Regions from separate parts of the Homo sapiens genome. Here regions 2, 3, 4, 5 and 6 are each linked to region 1. The links are contacts of gene promoters, found by promoter capture Hi-C in blood cells and fetal thymus (Javierre and others, 2016). All regions are on one chromosome and are shown on one strand. Each heading gives the region's core, a stretch centred on a gene start or on the middle of the fragment in contact. The rest is flanking DNA. Distances are from core to core; before and after follow the strand shown. Region 1 holds the start of PRPF39 (pre-mRNA processing factor 39). Region 2 has its middle 19 kb from the start of DORIP1. Region 3 has its middle 35 kb from the start of MIS18BP1. Region 4 overlaps LOC107984674 (a long non-coding RNA gene). Region 5 overlaps MIS18BP1 (MIS18 binding protein 1). Region 6 overlaps KLHL28 (kelch like family member 28).

Region 1 (4,588 bases), core at 1,565-4,064:
TCAAAACAGACCACTTGGCTCTACCAATCAGCAGGATGTGGGTGTGGCCAGATAAGAGAATAAAAAGCAGGTCGCCTGGGCCAGTAGTGGCAACCTGATTGGGTCCCCTTCCACACTGTGGAAGCTTTGTTCTTTTGCTCTTTGCAATAAATCTTGCTACTGCTCACTCTTTGGGTCCACACTGCTTTTATGAGCTGTAATACTCACTGCAAAGGTGTGCAGCCTCACTCCTGAAGCCAGCGAGACCACGGGCCCACCGGGAGGAATGAACAAGTCCAGACACGCCACCTTAAGAGCTGCAACACTCACCGCGAGGGTCCGCGGCTTCATTCTTGAAGTCAGTGAGACCAAGAACCCACCAATTCTGGACACACCACTACCCTCTAAACTACATTATTTGGTATAATATCTTTTTTCTTCCCAAAGTTTATAATTGTGATACACAATTTTAAAAAAGTCAACTAAGGGTAAATCAATTTTTTTTTTTTTTGTCTTTTGTTTTTGTTTTGAGATGGAGTCTCACTCTGTCTCCCAGGCTGGAGTGCAGTGGCACCATCTTGGCTCACTCCAACCTCTGCCTCCCGGGTTCAATTAATTCTCCTCCCTCAGCCTCCTGAGTAGCTGGGATTACAGGCGTGCGCCACCACACCCAGCTAATTTTTGTATTTTTAGTAGAGATGGGGTTTCACCATGTTGGTCATGCTGGTCTCGAACTACTGACCTCATGATCTCCCCGCCTCGACCTCCCAAAGTGCGCTGGGATTACAGGCATGAGCCACCACGCCCTGCCGGCTAAATCAGTTTTTAAGATAATGTATGTTTCTGCCAGCGGGGATCACATTTTAGGCAAAGAGAAGAGCCCACTTAAAGGTTTCCACGCATAAAAGGGCTGTGGGAACAGTAGGTTCTGTGGAGTTACGGGGAGGCAGAAACAGTGAGAAGGCTGGCATGATTATGAAAACACCGTATTTTCCATTCTAAAAGTTTAGGATTTCTTTAAAAAAAAAAAAAAAGTGGAGGAGGAAACCAGTGGAGGTTTTTAAGCGGGGGAGTGAGAGCAATAGCACCGGCTTGAAAGGTAAAATGTAAAAACTAGATAAAGGAAAACAACGAATCCACAGTGAATGAAGTTGAAGATGCAAGTAGATTTTTATAAAATGGCTATTTGAGTGAATGACATCTCAGAGATAATCTTATTTACTGATAAAGAAATTGAGGCCACCTTAGAAAGACCAAAGAACCAGAAAAGGAGTGAAGGTCATGCCAAACAGTCCCTGCGTAACAGTGCCAGCAGCAAACTCTGGTCTGTCTTCCCAACGCACCACTCCCTTGACTATTCTTCCCACAGTAAACATTTAAAAGCTGCTGTTTAAACCTGTGAAACAAACAAACAAAAAACATGGCCACACTGTCAGAGAATCCAAAAAAGTTAGCTTGGAAAGTAGAAGAGGCAAATGGAAAGGGAAAGCTACTACTAGGTGCAGTGTGATGCAAGTAAAAGGTAGGAAAAAAGACTGAATTTGGTATTTCGAACGAAAGGTGCTGGTGAGAGGATTTATGATTAACCTGCGTTGTGACAAGAAACGTCGTCTTGTAAATAAGTATTTCCAGAGGAGACAGATTTCAGATGAGGAACTTGGAGCCCAGTAGTAATACTAATGCACCTGGAACAACAGATTACATGGTAAGTGACAGGTGAATGCGGGGGCACCAATGTAACAGAATCTTAAAGGGAGAGAGGCCAGATTTGAAAGAAAATTTTTTTTTATTAAAGTGGAGATGGTGGTACAACTGAAGAGGACTGCTAAGATTGTTAACGCACAGTCCCCCTCAATTTGTCCAGAGGATAACATATCCCTTCAGATACAAAGATTTTTTTTTTTGCTTGGCCAACTTTAGTCAGGTTTCTGAATCTTCTGCTAGGCTCTTCTGTACACTTTCTTTGTAAAATCCAGTTTAAGCAAAGAACTTTGCTAAGTCAGATTAGCAATAAACCCCCATCCTTGATAGCTGATCATCCTCAATATCTGATCAGGTTCTTCAGTCTCCACCATCCCCCAGGTGATGCCTCATTATCTTGGCCTGTCTTCAGCAAAAATCCTATTAGGTGGGTTTAGCCAAAATCCCCCTTACCCTGATGTTTCCTCTTAGTAATTATACATTCACTTACCACCGCTCCTTGGCTATAAATCTCCACTTGCCCATGCTGTATGAGGAGTTGAGCCCAATATCTCTTTCCCTACTGCAAGTCTCCATTGCAGTCAGTGGTCCCTATACCTGTTGCGATGGTCCTGAATAAAGCCCTCTTTTTGTGCTTTAACAAGTGTCACTAAATACTTTTTTCTTTAACAATAGCCCGTTCTCCAAACCCCTAACTCCAGAACTGTTTAGTTTTCAGGAAACCTGAGTGGGCCCAGGGTCTATACCATCGTGAGATTTGTGGGTTTAAGGCTGAATTTCTGCCCGTTTTTAGGTAAATGTTTTAGTGTGAAAGCTTGAACAATTGTAGGGAAAACCTTAGATTTGCCCCCAAAAATGACATTTTGCCGTTTTTGGTGGGGAGGGGTCAGGGCGCTGTGTTTAAGATCAGGCGTGTGAAAGCCCCTAAACGCCCTCCTTTCCTTTGGGAAGTCCCTATGGAGGGAAAGGCAGGTAGGCGCAGCGGTCCCCGCCCTCGCTCGCGGCGGGGCGGGGCGGGGCTGCGGGGGCGGGGCTGGGGCCGCACGGGCAGCGAGGATCCCTGGGAGGGCCAGGCCTGCGCGCTGCGAACCCACGTGACTTTTTCGCCTCCAGGGACACTGACGCATGCGCATCGTGCCCTGGACCAGGCGGCCGTGGCGCGGGTGGCGGCTGCTGTGCTGGCTGTGGGGACGGAGGCGGTGAAGTGCCATCTTCGGCTAGGTCGTCACAGGCTCCGGCTCATGGCATCAAGTGGCATCCATCATAAGGTCTGCTGGGGCGGGCTCCTTGAAATTAGCTGGGGCAGAGGGTGGTACTTGGTACTGAAAGGGGCCTGCCGGGTTTCAGGCCGCGCTCTGGCCGCGGCCTCCCTCTCCCGCCCTGTTTGAGGCCTGGCTCGGATTCAGCGCTCAGCTGTCCATTCCTTTCTCCTTCCCACCTGTTGGGTGGAGCGGTGCAAGGTATTTTTTTCTTAGACCAAACGTTTCACTTGAGGGGTGCGTTAGGTAGGGTGGAGAAGTGTGGGCCTCCTTCGCCTGGATTTAGGAAGATATTTGGGGGTAATTCTAAAGCCCTTGCTTCTCCCGGAGCTGGAACACGGCTGGGGTGGCTGGAAGTGGAAGGAGCACATTTGCAGCCGCCAGAGGATTGGGAAGATAATATACGTTCTATTACTAAGGCATGTGAGCGCCTTGTAGGGCACGTTCTGTCTTCTGACTACATAAGCAACACTTTTGCGACCCTAAGTCACAGCACCCACAGCTTTTGGCAGGATACTTTAAAACAGAAAAAACACATCATTGATCCTGGCAGGATTTTTTAAGGGATTGTGCTTAAGAATGTTTAACTTTGGTAATCAGAGACCACCACTGGTGTTTTTCTCCAAAATCACATCTTTAAGTTAATTAATACTTGAAGTTAATAAATAATACTGCTCAGTGTATTAGTAATGATGCCATAATACCATGTGAATTTATGCTGATTCAAATGTTGTTTTTTTCGTTTGATACTCATATGGCCTTCTGTTTGAGGACTTCAGATTATTTAGCAACTGATTTAATCTGTTCAGAAATAAACTTTGCTACAGCTGGAAAGCGTGAGGCTTGAGAAAGCAAGTTTTGGACAGGGACGTATGAAGCTCATGTTGAAACTTAAGTGTTTTAGGCTGTATGGGAGCTTGAATGGAGTGAAAAGAACAAGCGTCTACTGTCAGGTTTTCCTCCTCCCTCTAGATTTATAACCTCATTCTAGAGTTGCAAAAGTTGGAACTTTCCACTGTTCACTCTCTAGTAGGGATAAAGTGATGGAAAGGAGTTCTGTTAAAGAGGACTAGTACTTAGATTGTGAACTTTGAAGTAGGGGTTGAGCATAGATGGCTCATAGGTGGTATGAGACACTATTTGTGTAAAGTCTCAGAATATTTTTCCTTGCTTATAATTGAATAAGAAAGAAGATGTTTAAAAGTCAAATGATAAAAATTGTATGTGCTGTTTTCTGTGGTATGTTTTAACAAATCTACATGGAAGATAGGACTTCAAAAAAAATTAAAAATAGCCGAAGGAGGAAGAAGGTAGTGTAGTTCCAGCCAAATGGTACGTTTTCCAAAAAGCCGAAGATTGATGTAGACGTTTATGTAAATACATATACAAAATCTAGTTTCTGGAACACAGTGTTTAATATGTAGAGACTTTAAAAAGTCGGCGTGTGACTACTTAGCCCTTAAAAACAGCTGCCAAAACCAGTGGTTATGATAGTCTCTTTTCTTCTTACATCCCAAATCTCCAGATTGCCTTGTGGATGAGATTTGCTTATTGCAAAGCTACTTGTTTTGCTCTACCCAAAACTCCTTTCAGTCTTTAGTGATGACTTCAGATTTTTATATATTGCTGTGTTTATGAAAAAGAATAGT
Region 2 (4,588 bases), core at 1,388-3,887, 210 kb before region 1:
TTATTTCTCACTGTTCTGGAGGCTGGCAGCTCAAGAGTAGGGAGGCAGCATGGTCAGGTTCTGGTGAGGGTCCTCTTTCAGGTTACAGACTTCTGACTTCTTGTGGCATTCTCACATGGTAGAAGGGGCAAATGAGTTCCCTTGGTCCTATTTTCTAATGGCATTGATTTCATTCATGAGGGTTCCTCCCTCATGAATTAATCTCCTTCCAAAAGGACCCACCTCCTAATATCATCACTTTGGGGATTATGATTTCAACATAGGAATTTGGGGGTGGGGGTGGTGACAAATATCCAGTCCATAATACCTTCCTAAAAGTAATGCAGTTGCCAGTGAATGCCTTGGGCCCTAGCCAACCAGAATATCCACTTTTGTTCACATGGATAGGGGACACTTAGAAAAGGATGTGCAGAGGGCAGAAAGTGTAGGAAAATAAATGTACACAAACACACACCTGCCACACACAGACATACACACACTAGATATCTACCTATGCTTGTGTACAGGACAAAGTTGAATTTCTAGAGGAGCATTAGGACACTATCACAAATAGAGAGATAACTTCATAAGAGTATGAGCCAAGTCACAAAATCAGCTCTATTTTGGCTGGATCAGGGACAGGACTAAGGTGAGCTAAATGAGACACCGAGGGTCTCCTTATATTTTGTGCCCTAAGCTTCTCTCTTGCCTCACCCTAGTTCTGGCCTGAGACCGAATTAACATATATGGGGTAAGAAGCAATATAACTCAGAAGACAGGAAAGCACTTTTCTGTGCAAAGGAAGCACAGAAATCCAGGTCTGATTAACAAAGGAGACTCAGGAGGAAGAAGCAATTCAAGAGTCATCACTGGATAAAAGGAACTCAGGTCTAAGAGGGTAAGTGCATTCCAACATGTCACAATAATCCATGAAGTATATTATTGTAATATCAAAATTTTTATTTTAAAACTCTTATTGTATTATCTGTTAAAATTAATACAGTAATTAAAAAAATTAGTGGCTTAAAACAACATTTATCTCACAGTTACATTTGGGTTGGAAATTTAAGCATGGCAATAGCTGGATCCTCTGGCCCAGGGTCTCTCAAAGGCTGCAATCAAGATGTCAGAGGATTGAAGAGCTCTTAAGCTCCAAATAGCCAGCGATACCAGCGATACCTAGGTATGCAGTGGGCCTTCTGTGAGACTCTGAGACTAGCTGGCTTCAAATGAGACTCAGCACATTTCCAGCCATGGTGGCTATGGGGAGAGACTCCTTATGCTGGAGAAAAGTAGAGGGAAAAGTAAAGGGGACTTTTGCACCTTAGGTACAGGCGCAGCCATAGTGGGGTAGAACATCAAGCGGGCTCTTGAGGTCCCTGATTCAAAGCCTTGGCTCCTGGACAGTAATTCTGGACCTGCCTTGGGCCAGAAGGGAGCCCACTGTCCTGAAGGGTGAGTCCCAGGCCAGGCAGCATCTACCACAAGCCGACTGAAGAACCCTTGGGTCTTAATGAACATCAGTGGTAGCCGGGCATTACTCCCTGTGGACCTGTAGTGGCAGTAGCCATAGGTGAGCTTCCTCTGCCTGTGGAAAGGGGAGGGAAGAGTGAGAAGGACCACGTCTTATGGTTTGAGCACCACCTCAACCACAGTACAATAAACATCAGGTAGACACCTAGCTTTTTGACTCTAGTCCCTGGCTCCCAAATGGCATCTCTGGACCCCCGCAGGGCCTGGGGGAACTCATCGCCCTATAGGGAAGGACATATGCCTGGCTGGCTTCACCACCTGTGCATTGTAGACCCCCAGGCCATGAGAAGACATAGGTGGTAGCCAGATAGTGGTTACAGTGGGCCTTGGGCAAGACTCAGTACTGTGTGGGCTTCAGGTCTCACCTAGCATAATTCCAGTGGTGGTGGCCATAGGGCTACTTATGTTACCCCACCCCCAGCTCCAGGCGGCTCAGCACAGAGAAAGAAACTCCATTTCCTTGAGAGAACGTAAGGGAGGAGATCAAGAGTCTCTACTTGGTAATCCAGAGAATTCTTCCAGATTTTATCCAAGACTATCAAAGTTGGTACCTCTATGAGTCTGTAAGAACCATAGCATTATTGGGCTTGGGGTGCCTCCTAATGCCAGTACAGCTTAGACCATGACACCCAGGTGATTTTAAATAGCTGGGAGACCTTCTCAAGAAGGATGGATACAAACAAACCCAGACTGTGTAAACTACAATAAATGCCCAACTGTTTAATGCCCAGACACAGACAAACATCCACAAGCATCAAGACCATCTAGGAAAACATGGCCTCACCAGGCTAAATGGGGCCCCAGAACTAAATGGGGCACCAGGAACCAATTCTGAAGAAACAGAGACATGAAACATTTCAGACAAAGAATTCAAAATAACTGTGCTGAGGAAACTCAAAGAAATTCAAGATAAAGCAGAGAAAAAAAAATCAGAATTCTATCAGATAAACTGAAGAAAGATATTTAAATAAAAAGAATCAAAAAGAAATTCTGGAGTTGAAAAATGCAATTGACATACTGAAAAGGCAGAAGAAAGAATGGGTGAGCTTAAAGACAGGCTATTTTAAAATAGACAGTAAAAGGAAACAAATGAAATTAAAAAAAAAAATAAAGCATGCCTACAAGATCTAGAAAATAGCATCGGCCAGACACGGTGGCTCATGCCTGTAATCCCAGCACTTTGGGAGGCCAAGGAGGGAGGATCACCTAAGGTCGAGAGTTCGAGACCAGCCTGACCAACATGGAGAAACCCCATCTCTACTAAAAATTCAAAATTAGCTGGGCGTGGTGGCACATGCCTGTAATCCCAGCTACTGGGGAGGCTGAGGCAGGAAAACTGCTTGAACCCAGGAGGAGGAGGTTGCGGTGAGCCAAGATCATGCCATTGCACTCCAGCCTGGGCAATAAGAGCGAAACTCCGTCTCAAAAGCAAATAGCGTCAAAAGGGCAAATCTAAGAGTCGTTGGTCTTAAAGAAGAGGTGGAGAAAGAGGGGGGTTAGAAAGTTTATTCAAAGGGACAATAACACAGAATTTTCCGAACCTAGCAAAATAAATCAATATCCAAGTACAACAAGGTTATAAGACATGAAGCAGATTTAACCCAAAGAAGACTGCCTCCAAGCAATTAATAATCAAATTCCCAAAGGTGAATGAAAAAGAAAGGACACTAAAAGCAGCAAGAGAAAATAAACAACATGCAGTGGAGCTCTAATATGTCTGGCAGCAGACTTTTCAGTAGAAACTTTATGGGCCAATAGAGAATGGCATGACATATTTAAAGTGCCAAAGGAAAAAACTTTCCTCCTAGGATAGTATATTCAGCGAAAATATCCTTCAAACATGAAGCTGGAATAAAGACTTTCCCAGACAAACAAAAGCTGAGGGATTTCATCAACTCCAGACCTGTACTACAAGAAATGGTAAGGGGAGTACTTAAATCAGAAAGAAAAGGATGTTAATGAGCAATAAGAAATTGTCTGAAAATTTAAAAACTCACGGGTAAGTGCATAGAAAAACATAGAATACTATAACAATATGACTGTGGTGTGTAAACTACTCTTATCCTAAGTAGAAAGACTAAACAATGAAAAAAAACTACAACTTTTTAAGTCACAGACAGTATGGTAAGCTACAAATAGAAACAACAAAAAGTTAAAAAGCAGGGGGAGGGGCTGGGTGCAGTGGCTCACACCTGTAATCCAAGCACTTTGGGAGGCTGCGGTGAGTTGATCACCTGAGGTCAGTAGTTTGAGACCAGCCTGGCCAACATGGTAAAACCCCGTCTCTACAAAAATACAAATAAAAATCAGCTGGGTGTGTTGTTGCATACCTGTAATCCCAGCTACTCAGGAGGCTGAGGCAGGAGAATCACTTGAACCCAGGAGGCGGACATTGCAGCGAGCCGAGACTGTGCCACTGCACTCCAGCCTGGGCAACAAGAGTGAAAACTCCATTTCAAAAAAAAAAAAAAAAAAAAACCCCAGCAGGGGGAGGAAGTTAAGGTGTCAAGTTTTTATTAGTTTTCTTTTCACTTGTTTATGTAAACACTGTTAAGTTGTTATCAACTTAAAATAATGGTTTATAAGATAGTATTTTTAAGCCTCATGGTAACCTCAAATCAAAAATCATGCAACAGATACACAAAAAATAAAAAGCAAGATACTAAATCATACCACCAGAGAAAATCACCTTCACTAAAAGGAAGACAAGAAAAAAGGAAAGAAGAAAGCAAAGACCAGAAAACAAATAATGAAATGGCAGGAGTAAGACCTTACTTATTAATAATAACATTGAATGTAAATGAAGTAAACTCTCCAATCAAAAGACATAGCCTGAGGCTGGGCTGGGTGGCTCATGCATGTAATCCCAGCACTTTGGGAGGCTGAGGTGGGCAGATCACTTGAAGTCAGGAGTTCAAGACCAGCCTGGCCAACATGGTGAAACCCCATCTCTACTAAAAACATAAAAATTAGCCAGGTGTGGTGGCATACATCTATAGTCTCAGCTACTCAGGAGGCTGAGGTGGGAGGATTGCTTGAACCTAGGAAGTGGAGGTTGCAGTGAGCCAAAATCATG
Region 3 (4,588 bases), core at 632-3,131, 200 kb after region 1:
CCCAAGCAACAGTACATTGCAAGATGGAGTTGGTACATTTAGGAGCAAGTATAATCATAACCAGATGGCTCAAACAAGCTTCACGAGTAGGTATTACAGACCCCCATGGCACCTATCACTGTTTTAACAGTGCCCTTTCATTCATCTCATGCCTGTGGTTCTATGGAGGATTCTACCCAAAGCACAAAGAAAAAAACTCAAGCTTGGTTTATGGATGGATCAGCTCAGTATGTAGATGAAAGTCAAAAATAGCCCTACTCAAAAGTTGCTTTGAAAAGACAGAAGGTTCTTAGAACCATCGTCTAATACATGCTTTGCCCAAATGTGTTTCTCTCCCTGGTCTCACCAATACATTTTTTTCCCTCCTAACCATAGCTCTTGCTTCATTATATTTTAAAACCATTAACCTCTCAAATAATTTTATGGAATCCACTTACTTACCTCTTTTAAGAATTATCATCCATAACTTTGTCAAGTTTGAACCTTTTTAGAGAGAGGACCTTACTCAACATGTAGATTGGTTACCTTTTTGACCCAAGAATTGTACATCATTGCCACAGCTCACGACCCTGCCAGTGTAATTTGTTTCTTGAGATATGGGGTAGTTTCATAAGACTTGGCTACTTCAGGGTTTTAGCTCTGTGGTGATTAAAGGAATAATATTTAACCCAGAAATACTTATTAAACCTGCCAATCTGTTAAGAAAAAAGAACATTGTTTAGGATATCTTTTGATAGTAAAAGGAAATGCTTTAGGAGGACGAAATAGGTTGGAAGTTTCTGATCAGGCTTTTATATTAAAAAAAAAGATAAATGTAGGGAGAAGAAAAGGAAGTTACTCATGGAAACAAAGAAATTGGGCCTTAAAATCAGAAACAGACCTGGGAGCATGAGGCCATTTATATTCGTGGCCTTTCTTTTTTTTCTTTCTTTTATTTTTTTTGAGACGGAGTCTCACTCTGTTGCCAGGCTGGAGTGCAGTGGCGCGATCTTGGCCCACTGCAACCTCCACCTCTTGGGTTCAAGTGATTCTCCTGCCTCAGCCTCCCGAGTAGCCGGGTCTACAGGCATGCGCCACCACGCCCAGCTAATTTTTGTATTTTTAGTGGAGACGGGGTTTCACCATATTGGCCAGGGTGGTCTTGATCTCATGACCTCGTGATCTGCCCACCTCGGCCTCCCAAAGTGCTGGGATTACAGGTATGAGCCACCGTGCCCGGCCATTCATGGCCTTTCTACATGAGCACTGTGAAAGAAATTCTGACATCTCTTAAACAAGTATGCCTTTTCTCTTGCTAATTAATTTCTGGAATTTTGTTTCAAGTCTGACTTGAGAATGCTATGAAATATATGTTATCTTGTAAAGCCAATCCCATTCGATCAGAGGACAGTTCAAGTTGATTATTATTACTGTTAGTAGTATTATTATTTTGTTCTACCACAGGGCATTTCCCTCCTATAAATGTGCACAAACAAGGTATATAAAGGAAGTTTCTCTAGAACATATTAAAATGAACAATTTACCTTAATCTATGAATTTGCCAGACTCAGAAGAAGCATTGGAATTTAACAGGTTTCCACTAGATGGCAAGCCGCCTCTTTGAATTTCTCAATGGCATCAAGCAAAAATATTGCTGCTGTTTAAAACGTACATCTTTGCATGAGACAGCTGCACTTGTATCAAAAACTAATAAAGGCACTGATTCATAAATTTAGCCAAATTTAGAATCAAGCTATTCAAACTGAAACTGAAAATATATTGTAATGTTTAAAAGTTTTATTTGGAGAATATGTATTCATTTATTAATTTAACAAATATGAAGTGCCTCCTACGTGTTTTTCATGCTTTGTTTCATTTGTTCCCCCTAACAATGAGATTGGGTGTTCTTATTAGTCCCAATTTAGAGACTGGGAAACTGAGGCTTAGATAGATTAAATGATTTAGTAGTCCAAGATATACAGGTTTAAACCTACACAGTTTGTCCCAGAGCCGGCTCTCCTAACCACTACATCTTAGTGCCCACCATAAATAAATTACAGTAAATCAGTGTAATATGTGTAGCACTGTGTCATGTTTAAAAGGATTATTTTTTATTTTCTTCTTACAGACATTAGCAGAGTTAAATCTTCTGGCATGACCTTTATGAAAGACTGTGTATAAACAAGTAAAAATGATTGCAAAACACACTATATTAGAGCAAATAATGTCTGTACAGTGTTGCCTATATAAGCATATGCAAGATGAAAGGAAATGGCATAAAACTCTGCAAAAATACTACAGAAAAAGACAAATGTAAAGAGACAGAGTCAGAGAGAGACTGAGAGAAACATACATGTGAAAGAGAAATGATGAAATCATCTATAAGAAATCATAATTTCTGGCCGGGCGCAGTGGCTTATGCCTGTGATCTCAGCACATTGGGAGGTCGAGGTGGGAGGATACCTTGAGCTCAGGGGTTTGAGATCAGTCTGGACAACATTGCAAAACCCCATCTGTACCAAAAAGTACAAAAATTAGCTGGAGGTGGTGGTGCATGCCTGTAGTTCCAGCTACTCGGGAGGCTGAGGTAGGAGGATCACTTGAGCCCAGGAGTTGGAGGCTACAGTGAGCTGCGATCATGCTACTAGACTTCAGCCTGGGTGACATAGTGGGACCCTGCCTAAACAAAAAAAAAAAAAAAAAAGGAAAAAAGAAAAAAGAAAGCTGGGTGTGGTGGCTCATGCCTGTAATCCCAGAATCCCAGCACTTTGGGAGGCTGAGGCGGGTGGATCACCTGAGGTCAGGAGTTTGAGACCAGCCTGGCCAACATGATGAAACCCTGTCTCTACTAAAAATACAAAAAATTAGACGGGCATTGTGGTGGGTGCCTGTAATCCCAGCTACTTGGGAGGCTGAGGCAGGAGAATCCCTTGAACCCAGGAGGCAGAGGTTGCAGTGAGCTGAGATCGCGCCACTGTACTCCAGCCTTGTCAACAAAAAAAAAAAAAAGGAAAAGAAAAATAATAATTTCTGTAACAGAAACTGTTTCCTTGTTAATGTCTCTTGCTGTAGAAGAATTTTTCACAAATAGAAATTCAGTGAAATGAAAGTTTAAAAGACAAGAATATAAAACAACAGAATGAAATTAAAAGGGAAGTGCAAGGTCAAGGAAACTCAGATGTAAAGCAGAATTTTAAATCTAATAAATATATTAAAAGAATAAAAAGCAGAAGAGACATAGTTAAAATTTAAATTAATGTGATGGAAAAAAGGCATAAGTTACAGTGAATGAGAAGCAAGATGGAGATGAAGGCAATTAGGAAGAGGCTGTAGACATGGATGACTGACAAAACAATAGGCATCTCTGAAGTAGACAACAGATGGTGAGAAAAAGTATTCAGAGATATAATAGTGGAAAATCTCTTTCATAATAAAGCACACACGTCTAATAGGAAAAATTGATACTGAATTACCAACATTGAGAAGTGCCCTGTATGTTACCAAGCATCAAGATTTTAACAACAAAAAAGAATTCTTCAGACATCAAGTAGAAAAAGCAAGTTACTTAACAAGGGGAAATTCAAGCTTGTGTCAGACTTTTTACAGAAACATTTAGCACTGGAAGAAATAGAGGTGTCCACCACATTCTTGGACAAAATATTATATTCATCTATGTTATAATTCAAATATAAAGTATTCAGGGGATAAACATTTAAGAATTTTTTTTTAGGGGTTGCGTTGCTCTCTGGTAGAGGCGTGCAGGTGTTAGCCACACCCTCTGAGCTGGGATGAGCTGTGCTCCTGGTGGAAGCAAGGGAGCCCAGCCGAAGCCATGGCCAGTACAGTGGTAGCAGTTGGACTGACCATTGCTGCTGCAGGATTTGCAGGCCGTTATGTTTTGCAAGCCATGAAGCATATGGAGCCTCAAGTAAAACAAGTTTTTCAAAGCCTACCAAAATCTGCCTTCAGTGGTGGCTATTATAGAGGTGGGTTTGAACCCAAAATGACAAAACGGGAAGCAGCATTAATACTAGGTGTAAGCCCTACTGCCAATAAAGGGAAAATAAGAGATGCTCACTGACGAATTATGCTTTCAAATCATCCTGACAAAGGAGGATCTCCTTATATAGCAGCCAAAATCAATGAAGCTAAAGATTTACTAGAAGGTCAAGCTAAAAAATGAAGTAAATGTATGATGAATTTTAAGTTCATATTAGTTTATATATATGAGTACTAAGTTTTTATAATAAAATGCCTCAGAGCTACAATTAAAAAAAAAAGAATTTTTTTTTTTAAAACTCTAGTCAGATGAAGTCCAGCTAATCCAGAAACTAATACAAAAATAGAGAACCCAGGAATAGAAACACACATCTAGTGAGAATAGCAGTAAATTGGCTGGGCACAGTGGCTCATGCCTGTAATCCCAGAACTTTGGGAGGCTGAGGCATGAGGATTGCTTGAGTTCAGGAGTTTGAGACCAGCCTAGAGAGACCCAACACTGAACATAGAGAGACCCAGTCACTAAAAAGTGAAAGCAAAGGCAAAAGCAAAACCAAAACCTAGCTGGGCAGGGTGGCACATGCCTGTTGTCTCAGCTACTTGGGAGGCT
Region 4 (4,588 bases), core at 661-3,160, 180 kb after region 1:
TACAGAAGGATCAAGAGACAAGAGGTCTTGAGGGGCTTGAAGACAGTAATAATTAATCAAATAGAACTGGAAGGTTTAGAGATAGCCATGTGACATATTAGAGTATAAATGATTCAGAGATATGGCCCATTCCTAGACAGCTTGAAAGTTGATGAAATAGTTATTTATAGTTCAATTACATGTGAGCTGAGGTTGGGGTGATATGGGAGGCCTGGTGGTATTAATAGTAACTATGTCTGTAATGCCTATTATAACTAGTATTTTGGTTACAACTAAAAGTGAAGTGGGCTGGGGAGGTGGGGGCATCTATGATTTATATCATGTGACTTTATAAAGTGTATTGTGTTTTCCCATTTAAGTTCATACTAATAGGTACAAAAGGCATACTGAAGCTAGCTTGAATTCAAAGAAATGGAATTCTTTTATTAAAGAGTCTCAAATTATTAGGAGATACATAGGAGATGGCTTGATTTTCCCAGTTCCTACTTTTGAGTGTGGTATGTCAAATCTCTCTCTCTCTCTCTAAGTAGTGGCTACTTTGAAAATATATTGGCCTACTCTGCCCCTGCAGATTCCTGCCTCTCAAAGAAATCTCAATATTATATCCCCTTCCCAATCTTGGGGGAAATACTGTAAGTCTCTCTCTACTCCTGCTGCTTCCATCTCCTCTCCATGCTGAGATGACTCCTAGGACATATAATTTTGGGGAAGAAGGAATGAGATGCTAACACTGACATGGTTTTTTTCTTGCTAACTCATCTAGCTTCACAGTGAGTGACTCAACTGCAGTGTTTGTGGGGGTATTTATTATAGGCCAAGAGGGCAGAATGCCCATGTCTAATCTAATATTTGACCTGGGGATAATATCTGGGCCTCTTCAACAACCACCTGGGGTGAGGCCTGAGGTCATGCCTGGTGATACATAAACCTGCTAGTGTTTTTGTTCTTGTTTCTGATTGTTATGCCAATTGACCTAACTTCTGGATCACCTTTCATACTTTGTAGTTTTATTTTTTTTATTTTTGAGACAGAGTCTCACTCTTACCCAGGCTGGAGTGCAGTGGCATGATCTCAGGTCATTGGAACTTCTGCCTCCCGGGTTCAAGTGATTCTCCTGCCTGAGCCTCCCGAGTAGCTGGGATTACAGGTGCCCTCCACCACACCTGGCTAATTTTTTTTTTTTTGTATTTTTAGTAGAGACAGGGTTTCACCATGTTGGCCAGGCTGGTCTCGAACTCCTCACCTCAAGTGATCTGCCTGCCTCAGCCTCCCAAAGTGCTGGGGTTACAGGTGTGAGCCACCGCACTGGCCAACCTTGTGGTTTATGTTGAAGTTGTCTGCTTATGTGACACCTGCTATCCCACAGCCCTTGATGTCCAATTTAAACAGGCACCTGCTTGACTCTCTAGTCAGCTCATCACGTGCCATATTACCAGCTCCTAGAGCATACTGTATAGTCTGTATAATTTGTTTTAGAATATTCTAAATGTCTCTTTTCAGTAATTTTTTTTTTTTTTTTTTGCCAGTGAACAGCCCTTCCTTGCTAACAAAAACAAACAGTTAAGCGATGGCTTTGATGCACTGAGGTAGGTTCTGACTAGGGCTCTCCTGCAGCTTAGCTCTGATGCCATCTTGTGGTCAAATGGGTATCTACACAGGGAGCCTTTTATTCTGGTTTTGGCTGTTGCCCACTACCATGCTAAGATCAAAGGCAGATTTGCTCTGTTTTTGTTTGTTTGTTTGTTTACGTTTTTCTTTTGCTGTGGATTTGTATTTTGTTTCCCTCATTGGGGGAGGGGAAAACTCAGAGTTCAATGCCCTCTACACTGACCAGTGGGTTGAAGGGAAGCTCTTTCCTTGCACCTCAGGGACAATTTCACCCACATTTCCCACAGCTATTTCCAGCTCAGCATTTTCAGAATAGAACTCTTTATCATTGTTCCCGCCTCACCCCCTTCCTTCCGCCAGTGAATCTCATTCTTAAATTCTGTCATCTTCTACACTTTATCTCAGTGAAAGGCTGTTTATCCATTGCTAAGTAAGAGGCCCAAGAGCCAATCGGGACTGTTTCCCCCCTATTCCCTCATTCACCTATTCTGCCTCCCAATAGCTGCTAATTTTTTGTCCATTTCCTCCATTCCTTCACCACAGTCTGAATCATGGCCTTCAATATTTCTCACTGAAACCATTGCAGTTGTTTGTCTCTGTCATGTCTTTATGTCTTCCATCTTCTAGCCTTGCCTACATTTTCCTTCATTTTTATTCCAGCATTGATTGAAACTGAAACTTGAAATCCTTCAGTGCCTCTGCAGAGCCTACGGTGTAAACTCCAAGATCCTTGATATGAGTTACAAGATGCTCTTTTGAGTTGGCATTTGTCTCTTCTGGGCCTACTCTCCATTCACTCCCCACCTCACATGTAACACCTAGTAGCACTTAGTTCCTGGAACACAATTAACTGCTTCATGCCTATGGGCATTTGTTCATGCTTTTCCCTTTTGATTAGAAATAAACCTCTGTAGGCCTTTCTCTTGGGCTTGTTCAGGTGGTCCAGTAGAAGCATCCTGCAAAATTGCCAGAGGGTATGTGACTTTGTGGGCCTATAAGAAACAGATGGATCTGGCCGGGCACAGTGGCTCACGCCTGTAATCCCAGCACTTTGGGAGACTGAGGTGGGCAGATCACCTGAGGTCAGGAGTTCAAGATCAGCCTGGGCAAAACGGTGAAACCCCATCTCTACTAAAAATACAAAATTAGCTGGGCGTGGTGGCATATGCCTGTAATCCCAGCTACTCGGGAGGCTGAGGCAGGAGAATTGCTTGAACCTGGGAGGCACAGGATGTGGTGAGCCGAGATCATGCCATTGCACTCCAGCCTGGACAACGAGCAAATCTCCATCTCAAAAAAAAAAAAAAAAGAAAAAAGAAAAAAAGAAACAGATGGATCACTCAAAGGGGAAATTGCAAAGAGCAATGAAAGGATTCCTTGAAAAGAGTTTAATGAGGGAAACATTACTAAACCTTCACAAACAGGAACAATCAAGAGGTGGTAAACACTCCAGGACTAAAAACAGCTGAAAGCCATTACCTCTCCTAGGCCTAACAGTATACTGGAACTTGGAATGATCTGTAGTTGTGTGTGAGAGGGCGTCCAACAGTTGCTGTATCTGAAAGTAGAGAAGTGCAGTCACTGCCAAAAATTGCAAGGGAAGGGGAGAAAGAGAATAAAAGCTCAACCCATCTCTCCTTTTACCCTGCAATCTTATGCTGGTGGCTCTCATTGGCTGAGTCCAAATGCAAGCCAGAGGCTAAGGGAGCCTAGCTGATACAGTCCACAGAAGTCAATTTCTCAGAGCCAGGGAGAGAATGGCAGAGAAAGGACCAGGAGAGGCAAACAGAGTATAAATCTGTTAACTGGTGTTCTGTGAGACAAACTGGGGAAGAGGGTTAGGGGTGTCACCTTTTAGTATAAAGACTTTCAATTAATCACCTCTTAATTAATCAGCTGCAAAAGGTGTCCCCAAATTTTGGGCTAAGGAAAGAGGACTGAGAAATGATTTTTTTTTTTTTAAATACAGACTTTCAACCATTTCTTCTGTTTTAAGCTCAACTCTACACTTTGCCTTCAGATGTATCTGGAGCCTCCAATTCCTGAAACTTTCTGGGATTTGCAAAACAAATCAGCTTATTTATTAGCTTACTTGCTCCTAAAAGTGAGATCTATGATATCTCTTTTCGATTAGGTCAGTTTTCACAAAAATATTTCATTAGAGACACATTTACTATCATGGTCAGGAAACAAATATACGCTCTGCTTTAGAGGGAGACTCAACTTTTTATCTTCTAAGATTGTTTTCCATACAAACATCCTTGAAAAGATAGTCTGGAACAAAAGCTGTCAGTGCCTCTTCATGAGACATACAGAAACACAAAAGATCACTGGAGAATTGTCTCTCAACATTATGGAGGAGAGACACAGTCAACTCATGGACTGGCCCTTTTTAAAAAGAAGAATAGCATTCTAAATTTCTAGTTGATGGAGATACCATATCCCTGACTTCAGAAACAGATAGTGAAGTATGCATTATTTTCTAACTCCTTTTCAGGCAATCTGTGTTTCATGAAGCAGAGTGTAAGTGCTTTTCACAGAAAAATTCCATCTGTCTTATACTAAGTATTGTTTATCCCAGATCCAGCATTGAAATATCTATTAGTCTTAGTTTTTGGTCTTGATGTGAGTTTTCACCTTTTTTAGTGGCTTCAAGGGTGTTTAATGCAATGTTGGGAAAAGGTACATAGAAAGAATGTGTAAAGGTTAGCAAAACCCTTTCTCTTTCTGTGTGGACAAAATTTACCTTGGATTAACTTTCTAATTATATTTCCCTAGAAACCTGTAAATGGCAGAATGTGAACTGTGTAACTAGCAATGTTGTTTATAGTAAAAATAATCCTGATTGATAAATTTACCTTGACTAGTTGTGAAGAACTACAAATTCCTGGTGTGAAGCCAAAACTTTGGGCTTTCCTAAATAACTCAATGTCTTTTGTGGGGACCAGGAAGTTATGCCCATGAATGTTGGTTCTTATCT
Region 5 (4,588 bases), core at 962-3,461, 160 kb after region 1:
TTTCTATTGAGATGACAAGTTACTGGGGATTCTGAACAGAACGACAAAATTTGATATTTTAAGGGACTGTTGGGTAGAGATGAGACTATATGAAGATTTTAGCTTGTCTGGAAAACAGACTGAAAAAGGAGAAAAGCAATACTGGAAGCAGGGAGACCACTAGGCTATGACAGTCATCCCTGGACTAGGAGGTAGTGGTTGAACAGTGAGAAGAGGCCGCATTCAGGAGAGTAGAGCCAATGGGATTTCTTCATGGTTTGGATGTGGAGCATGAGAGAGAAACAAGAGTCCAAGATGAATCTAAAATTTTGCCTAAATACTGGGGCCAATGGTATTACAATGTACTAATACAGGACAATGGAGAAGGTATGGTAAAGAAATCAAGAATAAGAATCTCACATTTTCTCACATTTTCAATTTGAGATGCCTATCTGATATCAATAGAAAAGTCATATAGACAACTGCACATGAGTGTGGAGTTGAGAAGAATTTTCTGTGCTGGAAACATATTGGAGAGCTATCAGCATAGAGATGGAATTTAAAACTATGACACTGGAAATACAGCCTAGAGAGTGCGTGTAGGTAGAAAAACAATTTCTAGGGCTGATCTGCAGTAATTCCAACATTTTTAGGACTGATTCTGGGGAAAGAAAGAGGAAATAGCAAAGAGGACTGAGAAGGGATGGGCAGCAATGTAGCAGAAAATCAGGAACGATCCTGGAATACAAAATATAAAGCGTAACACTTCTTTAGAAAGACATTTTGGGGCCAGGCGTGGTGGCTCACACCTGTAATCATTTCCTTTTACTTTAGGTGGTAAGGACATTGCCCTTTCAATTGCCCCCTCAATTTTCTCCCTACCTACACGCACTCTCTAGGCTGTATTTCCAGTGTCATAGTTTTAAATTCCATCTCTATGCTGATAGCTCTCCAATATGTTTCCAGCACAGAATATTCTTCTCAACTCCAACCATGAATACACAGACCTCTTTCAAATGTCTTGCTATATAAGGGAAACAAAAAGTAGTGTAGCAGCTGGAGTTGGACAGGGGATAAAGGAAAGATGGGCCTTTGTTTGCATGTTTTTAAAAAATGCAGGCCATGTTTCAACATGTTTATATGTTAATGAGAATAATCCAAAAAAAAAAAAATTTAGCCGGGCATGGCAGCATGTGCCTGTAGTCCCAGCCACTCAGGAGGCTGAGGCAGGAGATTTGCATGAACCTGGAAGGCGGAGGTTGCAATGAGCTGAGATTGTGCCACTGCACTCCAGCCTGGGTGACAGAGTGAGACTCTGTCTCCAAAATAAATAAATAAATAGATAGATAAATAAATAAAGTTTAAATATTTTCCAATAATGGGATTTCTAGCGAATATATTGAGATATAAAACCATAACTGGTATGTCACTCTTTAAAATTTAGATGGCTACAAGGGAGGCTTAAGTGGGAGGATTGCTTGAGCCCAAAAGGCTGGCCTGGGCAACAGAGTAAGGCCTCATTTAAAAAATTAATTATTAATTAAAATTTAGATGGAATTTATACATGATCTCAACTTGATAACCACCATCATACATTTAAGAATTAATGGCTGGATGCAGTGGCTCACGCCTCTAATCCCGGCACTTTGGGAGGCCGAGGCGGGAGGATCACTTGAGGTCAGGAGTCAGAGACCAGCTTGGCCAGCACGGTAAAACCCCGTCTCTACTAAAAACACAAAAATTAGCTGGGCATGGTGGCAGGCGCCTGTAATCCCAGCTACTCAGGAGGGTGAAGTAGGAGAATCGCTTGAACCCAGGAAGTGGAGGTTGCAGTGAGCCAAGACCACGCCATTGTGCTCCAGCCTGGGTGACAGAGGAAGACTCCAGCTCAAAAATAATTAATTAATTAATGGGCAAACCTCTAACAATTGGAAATTTTACACTGCATCTTCCTCCTTAAGCTTGTATTTCCATTCCACTTCCTTCAGAGAATTTGTCCTAATGTAACAGTTTAATGCTCTAAAGTCTTTCATTGATTACTCTGTATTTAATTTGGGAAAAATTCTCAAATCTTCAGATGCTACAGTTCCTTTCTATCTTAATTAATCTAACTATTTTAATAGTACTGTAAGTATCAGAAAAAAAAGAGTAGGAATGAATTCAATGTTCATCACCAAAAGGAACAAGTAAATTATTGAAGACTACACAACTAGTAATAGAGCAAAATAAGACTTAACATGTGGGTCTTCTTACATTCAACTCACTGTTCTTTTCACTATGTCACACTGTCACTGCAGTAAATAATAAAACATGATAATGAAGACACTGTTAATAATGAAGCATACAGGTTCAAATCCTAGCTAGAAAAAAAATAATGAGAGAACATTAAAAGCTCAAGCTCTTGAAGAACGGGGTAAAAATAGAAATAAATATCTGTCTTAAAAGTTTTCCCACCTGATTTTTTTTAAGTCCATTTGTAACAGTTTGAAATATTCTTGGAGGAGAAAGCTTTGAAATATTTCTTTTTGACCTCCGAGGTATTGTTATATGAAGTCTTGGTGTTGCAAGTACAATTTTACATGTATCTTTCATGGAACCTGGAAGACCTGTCTCTCCAGGCACTGTTTTTCCATTTCCTTCCTTAACTTTCTGTTGCGAAGTCCCTTCTGTTGTCCTCTCACTATCAGAAACCATTAACAGGCTGCCATTTTTAATAGGAATACAATTAGTACTGAGAGTCTCAGCATTAGTATTTTGAAATTGTTCATCAGCAGAATCAACGCTTTCTAAAACAAACGTGTCCTTTTTGGATTTAGTGGTTGCAACTATACTCTCCTTTGAGTGAAAAATTTGTTTAGCCAACTGAGCTCTAGTTAATGTCTTGTTTCGGGCTTCTACAGCCAAAAAATTTTCCTGTTCTTGGTTCAGAGTTGGAAGTTCTGCAAAAAATACAAAACAAAACAAAACAAAACAATTATAGAAGGATCACAGGAAATTAAAAGAGATAAATTTAGGTTAGGAACGTTCCACCCTCCTGCCCAGTCTTTCTCTGAGTGTCTCTTTTACGATTCAAGCTTTTGTCCACAGCTAAAGTTTAATGCCCACACAAGGAAAGTAATTACCTAGAACATTTAACAATATACTTAAGTAACAAACTGAAAACAAACCAAAAATAGTTTACCGTAAGTTAAATTGTGCAGTGGTGCTTTCTTTTCCTGCTGGCACTGAATCTTTTGTTTGACCGGGAGGAAAATATCATTATTTGATGATTCTAGAGGAACTCCTTGGACTGAGGCTAAGGTTTTATTTTTTAAAGAAAGAAGAAGTTGAATTGTATTAGTCACTAAGAAAAAAACAGCTTTTAAAATTCTTGAAATAAAGACACTTAGATTTAGTAATGATCAGACCAGTATAGTACTTTTGCAATATATGACAGTTACATATATTTTTATATTTTTGGCTGTATTATCTTCTCATACCTTTACCCCATTCTCTATACCAACATTACGGTGAGGAAGAATTTTTTAAAACCTTCTCTGAACACAACCCGCCAGCTCTAGACAAAAGTATTGGACTTAGAAACCTAGAGATCTGAAATTCTGGTGCTGCCACAAATTGGATATGTATATGTTAAGATTACAATATAAAGTTTCACCCAGTCTTGAAAATTCCGATTCTGTTTCTGGTTGCTGTGAATTTCTAAAGCATGAAAGATAGTCGAAGAATTGTAACTTATTCTTTAAAAATTAAAATGTTGAGATGCAACAGCAGACTCAGCCATAATTTATATCCTTTAGACAATTTTTAGTAGGCCTTCAAATGCTCAGAAGTTGTAGGTTTCTCAACTAGATAAATAAGGACTAATAGCACTGCTTGCATCTTATTCTGCTTTACCTCCTAGATTTTTAAAGTTTAATGTTTCTCGAATGTAGTTTCTTTCACACAAAAAGGGGATGATAATAGACTTAAAATTTGAGCCTGAGAAGAATTATCTTATATGTTTAATTTTAAATTTTATACTTGAAAAAACTGGTAGTGACTATGCTTTAATAAGTATGCCACTTTGGTCTCAGAAATCTTAAGATAAAGATTTCATTATAACAACGTGTCACAAAAAGAAACAATAAGTTTCTATATCTTTAACTCATTCTACAAGAAATGGCAAGGCAATTCAGTAGTAATTCAATCAAATGCAATAAGTTATATTTATTCACTTATGTGGGAGTCCCAGGTTCATGTAGACTCTCTAAAAGGTTTCTAAAAGTATATACAAAATTTGTGTTTCTATTTGTGTTTATATTTTCTGGGGGAAAGGGTCACCAGATTCTCAAAATGGTCAGGTATTTCTTACTCTCAAATGCTACCTTATTATATTTAAAAACTTTAATATGTATTATTTCATTTGCTTCTTCCTTTTCTCCCAGGCTATATGAGAAATAGATGACTTTGTGAGTCTCCCCACTTCTACCCCCAAACTCCCTTAGAAAACTCTGTGTTAGAATATGTCACTGTCTTGGAAATGCAACAATATACCCACAACCTACTGTGTAGTGGTTAAGAACATGGGCTTTCTAACAGATACCTATATTCAGTTATCAGCTTATTACTT
Region 6 (4,588 bases), core at 861-3,360, 150 kb before region 1:
TACAAAAGAAACAAATTATAGTAAACACTAAAACAGTTCATTTCAGCTTGTCTTTTCAGTTTCTCTTGCATGTTTGTTTCAAAAGGTTCTTTAATCATAAATATAGGTTGAACATCCAATACCCAAAAAATATGAAATCCAAAGTGCTCCAACATTTGAAACTTTTTTTTTTGAGATGGAGTCTTGCTCTGTCTCCCAGGCTAGAGTGCAGTGGCGCGATCTCGGTTCTAGCGATTCTCATGCCTCAGCCTCCCGAGTAGCTGACACTACAGGCATGTGCCACCGCACCAGGCTAATTTTTCATTTTTAGTAGAGATGGGGTTTCAACATGTTGCCCAGGCTGGTCTTGAACTCCTGACCTCAAGTGATCCTCCCACTTCGGCCTCCCAAAGTGCTAGGATTACAGGTGTGAGCCACACCGTGCCTGGCCCAACATCTGAAACTTTTTGAGCACCATATGATGCTCAAAGAAAGTGTTCACTTAAGCATTTCACACTTTAGATTTTTGAACTTGGCATGATCAACCTGGTAAGCATAATTCAAATATTCCAAAATCCCAAATCCAAAACCTGAAACACTTCTGGTCCTAAGCATTTTGGATAGGAAATATTCAATCTGTATGAGGAGTGCTCCCTAAAGCATTTCTGTCAGTATCTTAAAACCTTTCCCTTAAAATGATGTGATGAGTTTGAGTTCAAAGATAACAATTTTTCCTAAACCACAAAAGTGGATTTGTTTTGTTTCTACGAACTCTGAAATACAACCCTTTTTGATCAACTATACCCCCTGGGGAAGAAAGAACATTTGAAAGTGAACATACAGATTACTGATATACAATAGAAAACAAAACAGAACAATCCGAGGATTGTATGTATGTAACATATGAAAAGATGACATTTGTTACATGGACAAAAGGAGCTTCTATAAATACACACTCTAGTATAAGCATTTCCCAAAATGTATTCAGCAAGTTTGAGAAACAATAATATGCACATTGGCATATAAAAGTCACAATAAAGAAATCTATATACTTTTGTCTAGCTAATTGTCTTTCAAGTTTACCACATACAAGTCTTTTTTTTTTTTTTTCTGGACAAGTAATATTCCTACTGCTATATTCCAAGGAACTATTATTGCAAGCACATCATTATAGAAAACATTGCCTTACATGTTTAGAAATTAATAAATTCTTATTACCTGTTCTAGGTTCTTTCATTGGTCTACACACAGTCCACTGATTTTGATGAGGATCGTATCTTTCAATGCTGGACAAATGTGAGACTCCATTATGTCCACCCACCACAAAAATAAAGCCTAGCATGACACCCACGCCAAAGTGAATCCTTTTATCTGCCATGGATGCAACCATCTCCCAGGAGTCCTTACTTGGATCATAACGCTCCACACTGCAAATATTTAAAAAAAATTTAATTTACAGATCTTTTGTGTCATTCTTCCTGTCAAAGCAAAACTAAAACCCACTACAGCTTTAAAAGTTCACATAATAGAGAGATATTAAACAAGAGTAGTCTGCCACAAATGCTTAGGTTTTGCTGATAAGATTGCAAAGATAAAAGCTTACCTTGTAAACAAGGTGCAATTCCATATGCTATTCCATTATATTGTGCAAGCGGCAAAGTATATTAAGAGCATAGAACTTGGAGTCAGAAGACCTGGGTTCAAGTACTAATTCTGTATACCTAGGGCTGAACGAACCTTAACCCTACTGCTGTGGATTTGTGTAATCCTGAATAAGTCATTTCCTCTCACCTGCAAAAATGAGGATAGTGCAACCTGAAGGGATTCATATAAGAATAAAGTCAAATGAGTATGCACGTGACTTTGAAAACCACTAACTGAATACAGACTTTTTTTTTTTGTTCCTAAATTTTATTTATTTATTTTTGAGGCAGGTCTCGCTCTGTCACCTAGGCTGGAGTGCAGTGACAAGATCAGAGCTCACTGCAGCCTCAAATTCCGGGGCTAAAGTGATCTTTCTGCCTCAGCCTCCTGAGTAGCTAGGACTAAAGGTACATGCCCCCATGCCTGGCTTGAATACAGAGGTTTTTAGGATCTTCTATACAGTTAAGGGGAAAAGAAGAGGAAGAGAGGGGTGGGGGGTGGGGAGAAAAACCTTTATTTTTTTTCGTCACAGGAGAATTCATGTGGCTTACTGCAAAGCAATCACTGTAGATTGCATAGTACAAACTGGCTGATCATAATTATCTCAGGGTGATTTAGGAGTACTCAGGAATTTGAGTCAAGACTGTGTTTCAGAGAACGTGTGGCATTTCTAAGCTGCATTATGGAATCCAAATTAAATCAGAATTTTCAAAAAGGCTTCCCTAGAAAATTCTAGCAGCTGTTTAAGACTATGGTTTCCTCTGAAGGTGCACAAAGGCACAGAGGTAAGATTGTTGGGCTTGTTCTGGCCCTAACCTATTTCCTGAAAAAACCATAAGCATTTAACAGGCTGTGACACCATTCTGGAGTTCATAATAGAGACTGGGTAATGTTTCTGAAAGAACTCCAGGATAGAATCCATTAGACCAAAATCATTGAAGAAGAGTTGATGCACTGCAGCAAGACTTTCAAGATAATCAAATTTAAAATACTTAACCTTTTATCTTACAAATTTTGGGCAGAAGCTTTTCAAAGAATAGAAATGCATGTCTATGTCCCATATTTTTCCTTCAACTAAGGGCAAAAAATATAAATAAATAAAAGGAGGAATACTTTGGCTTCAATAGAAGTAAAAATTTACAGATGAAATGCTGTTGTGCCATCACTTTCTCAGTCAACAAACCTCAGTATTTGTAGAGGATTGGTTCCAGGATCCACCCCATCCCAAGGATACCAAAATTTGCAGATGCTCAAGTTCCTTATATAAAACAGTATAATATTTGCATATAAGCTACACGTATCCTCTTGTATACTTTAAATCATCTCTAGATTACTTATAATACTATGCAAATAGCTGTTATACTGTATTATTTTGTTTTTTATTATTGTAAATTTTTTCAAATATTTTTGATCCACAGTTGGATGGATCTGTGGATGTAGAACCCGTGGATATGGAGGGCTGACTGTATGCCCTGTCATTAAAATACTCACAATCAAAATAACACAAACCACTCTAATTACTATTAAAGATACAATCTTTTCTTTTCTTTCTTTCTTTTTTTTTTTTTTTGAGACAGGGTCTCACTCTGTTGCTCAGGCTGGAGTGTAGTAGTGCATTCAAGGCTCACTGCAGCCTCAACCTCCTGGGCTCAAGCAATCCTCCCACGTCAGCCTCCCAAAGTATTAGGATTACAGGCGTGAACCACCACACCTGGCCAAAGATAAAACCTTTGGAACATCAATTTTCAATAAAGGTTCAGAATTACGATTAATTTCTCATATAACTAGTTACTTCATACTTTTATTTTCTCATATATATTTCTCCTTTATTCAGATAAAACTACAGAATACAGATATCACAAATTCAAACTCCAGCACAAGTCAAATACCTGATGATACATGTATGATTACAGGAAAGAATTCAGAAAGGAATATTTAAATAAGGTTTTAAGTTTATGATGTGCTATAATATTGTATAGACACACAGGAATTAAATTTCTACTTCTTTATTCTATTAAGCAATACAATAAAAGATAATTTACATACTGTGCACATAGATGTACACACCACACAAAATCTAAAGTTGTCTAACTTCATCTTATTTTTAGGTTTCTGAGTTTTAAAATCTAGTCCATTTATAGTGAATGAATGTAAAATTTAATGAGAGGGATTTGATTGTTAGGTTTGTATTAAATTCCCATGTAAAACAATTACAATTATATCCATGGAGCAGATTAAGTTTCCCAAATGCCGGAAGTTCATTCATACACACAAATTGTTTAAAACTCAGAAATCATTGCTAATGAGACTTTTAAAAATCCATAAACATATGCAATTTAATTATTAAGTTAAATACCTGTTCATGTGGGCAGGACCATACCCACCAATGGCATATATCATTCCATCCAATACCGCTGCAGCAAAACAACTTCTTGTTGTCGTCATTGGTGCCACAGGTTGCCATTTTCTTATTTTGGGAATGTACTTCTCTACAGATTGTAAATAAGATTGTCCATCATAACCACCTAAGGCATAAAGTTCTCCTGCAAGTACTACTACTCCAAGAGTACTTCGGCTTTCATTCATTCTCTCTAGAGAAGTCCAAGTATTTGTATCAGGATTCCAGCATTCCACTGAATTTTCATGTTTTCTGATAGTGACGCCAGGACGCACATTAGTTGCAATACCACCTATAACATATACTTTTTGGTCTAAAACGCATATTCCAAATTCATAGCGAGGAATGTTTAGGGGTGCCAAACCAATCCAAGAGTCATTCTGAGGAAAGTACATCTCCACACTAAAGAATAAGCAGAAAAAATATAAAATTTAAAAACCAAAGTGGCCCATAAAGACAGATATGTTTAATCTTATTAGTAATCAGGGACACAAAAATTAAAAGCACAATAAACCATGACACACCTTCCAAAGTGGCAAAAAATATAAAGTCAGATAATAATTGTTG

What was found. Contacts are between HindIII fragments. The CHiCAGO score rates a contact against its expected background, and 5 or more counts as called.
Region 2: a fragment that was not itself captured here is called in contact with the fragment with the promoter of PRPF39 in region 1 in 2 of 17 cell types (total CD4 T cells and monocytes); the score reaches 6.6 in total CD4 T cells.
Region 3: a fragment that was not itself captured here is called in contact with the fragment with the promoter of PRPF39 in region 1 in 3 of 17 cell types (monocytes, M2 macrophages and total B cells); the score reaches 8.5 in monocytes.
Region 4: a contact is called between a fragment that was not itself captured here and the fragment with the promoter of PRPF39 in region 1, in 14 of 17 cell types (neutrophils, total B cells, naive B cells and 11 more). The highest score is 11.5, in neutrophils.
Region 5: a fragment that was not itself captured here is called in contact with the fragment with the promoter of PRPF39 in region 1 in 17 of 17 cell types (total B cells, monocytes, total CD4 T cells and 14 more); the score reaches 18.4 in total B cells.
Region 6: a fragment that was not itself captured here is called in contact with the fragment with the promoter of PRPF39 in region 1 in 17 of 17 cell types (activated CD4 T cells, naive CD4 T cells, total CD8 T cells and 14 more); the score reaches 20.7 in activated CD4 T cells.

Annotation. Positions count from the first base shown.
Region 1 is chr14:45,081,302-45,085,889 of GRCh38, forward strand. PRPF39 (pre-mRNA processing factor 39) reads left to right here and starts at 2,815. Exons shown (of 14, transcript NM_017922.4): 1 at 2,815-2,948. PRPF39-DT (PRPF39 divergent transcript) reads right to left here and starts at 2,725. Exons shown (of 2, transcript NR_184211.1): 1 at 2,171-2,725; 2 at 1,747-2,086. RefSeq lists a silencer at 2,520-2,809. The HindIII fragment of the contact is 5,294 bases long and covers 2,493-4,588 here.
Region 2 is chr14:44,875,934-44,880,521 of GRCh38, forward strand. No RefSeq gene overlaps it. Among named protein-coding and RNA genes, the nearest start is that of DORIP1, 19 kb to the right of the region's middle. The HindIII fragment of the contact is 3,926 bases long and covers 675-4,588 here.
Region 3 is chr14:45,286,225-45,290,812 of GRCh38, forward strand. It overlaps the pseudogene DNAJC19P9. Among named protein-coding and RNA genes, the nearest start is that of MIS18BP1, 35 kb to the left of the region's middle. The HindIII fragment of the contact is 3,362 bases long and covers 201-3,562 here.
Region 4 is chr14:45,267,103-45,271,690 of GRCh38, forward strand. It overlaps LOC107984674 (a long non-coding RNA gene), which reads left to right. Exons shown (of 4, transcript XR_001750746.2): 3 at 1,527-1,586; 4 at 2,269-2,607. Among named protein-coding and RNA genes, the nearest start is that of MIS18BP1, 16 kb to the left of the region's middle. The HindIII fragment of the contact is 6,569 bases long and covers 1-4,588 here.
Region 5 is chr14:45,239,601-45,244,188 of GRCh38, forward strand. It overlaps MIS18BP1 (MIS18 binding protein 1), which reads right to left. Exons shown (of 17, transcript NM_018353.5): 3 at 3,161-3,274; 4 at 2,434-2,918. Among named protein-coding and RNA genes, the nearest start is that of MIS18BP1, 11 kb to the right of the region's middle. The HindIII fragment of the contact is 547 bases long and covers 1,939-2,485 here.
Region 6 is chr14:44,930,136-44,934,723 of GRCh38, forward strand. It overlaps KLHL28 (kelch like family member 28), which reads right to left. Exons shown (of 5, transcript NM_017658.5): 3 at 3,980-4,423; 4 at 1,198-1,406. Among named protein-coding and RNA genes, the nearest start is that of KLHL28, 30 kb to the right of the region's middle. The HindIII fragment of the contact is 1,071 bases long and covers 1,576-2,646 here.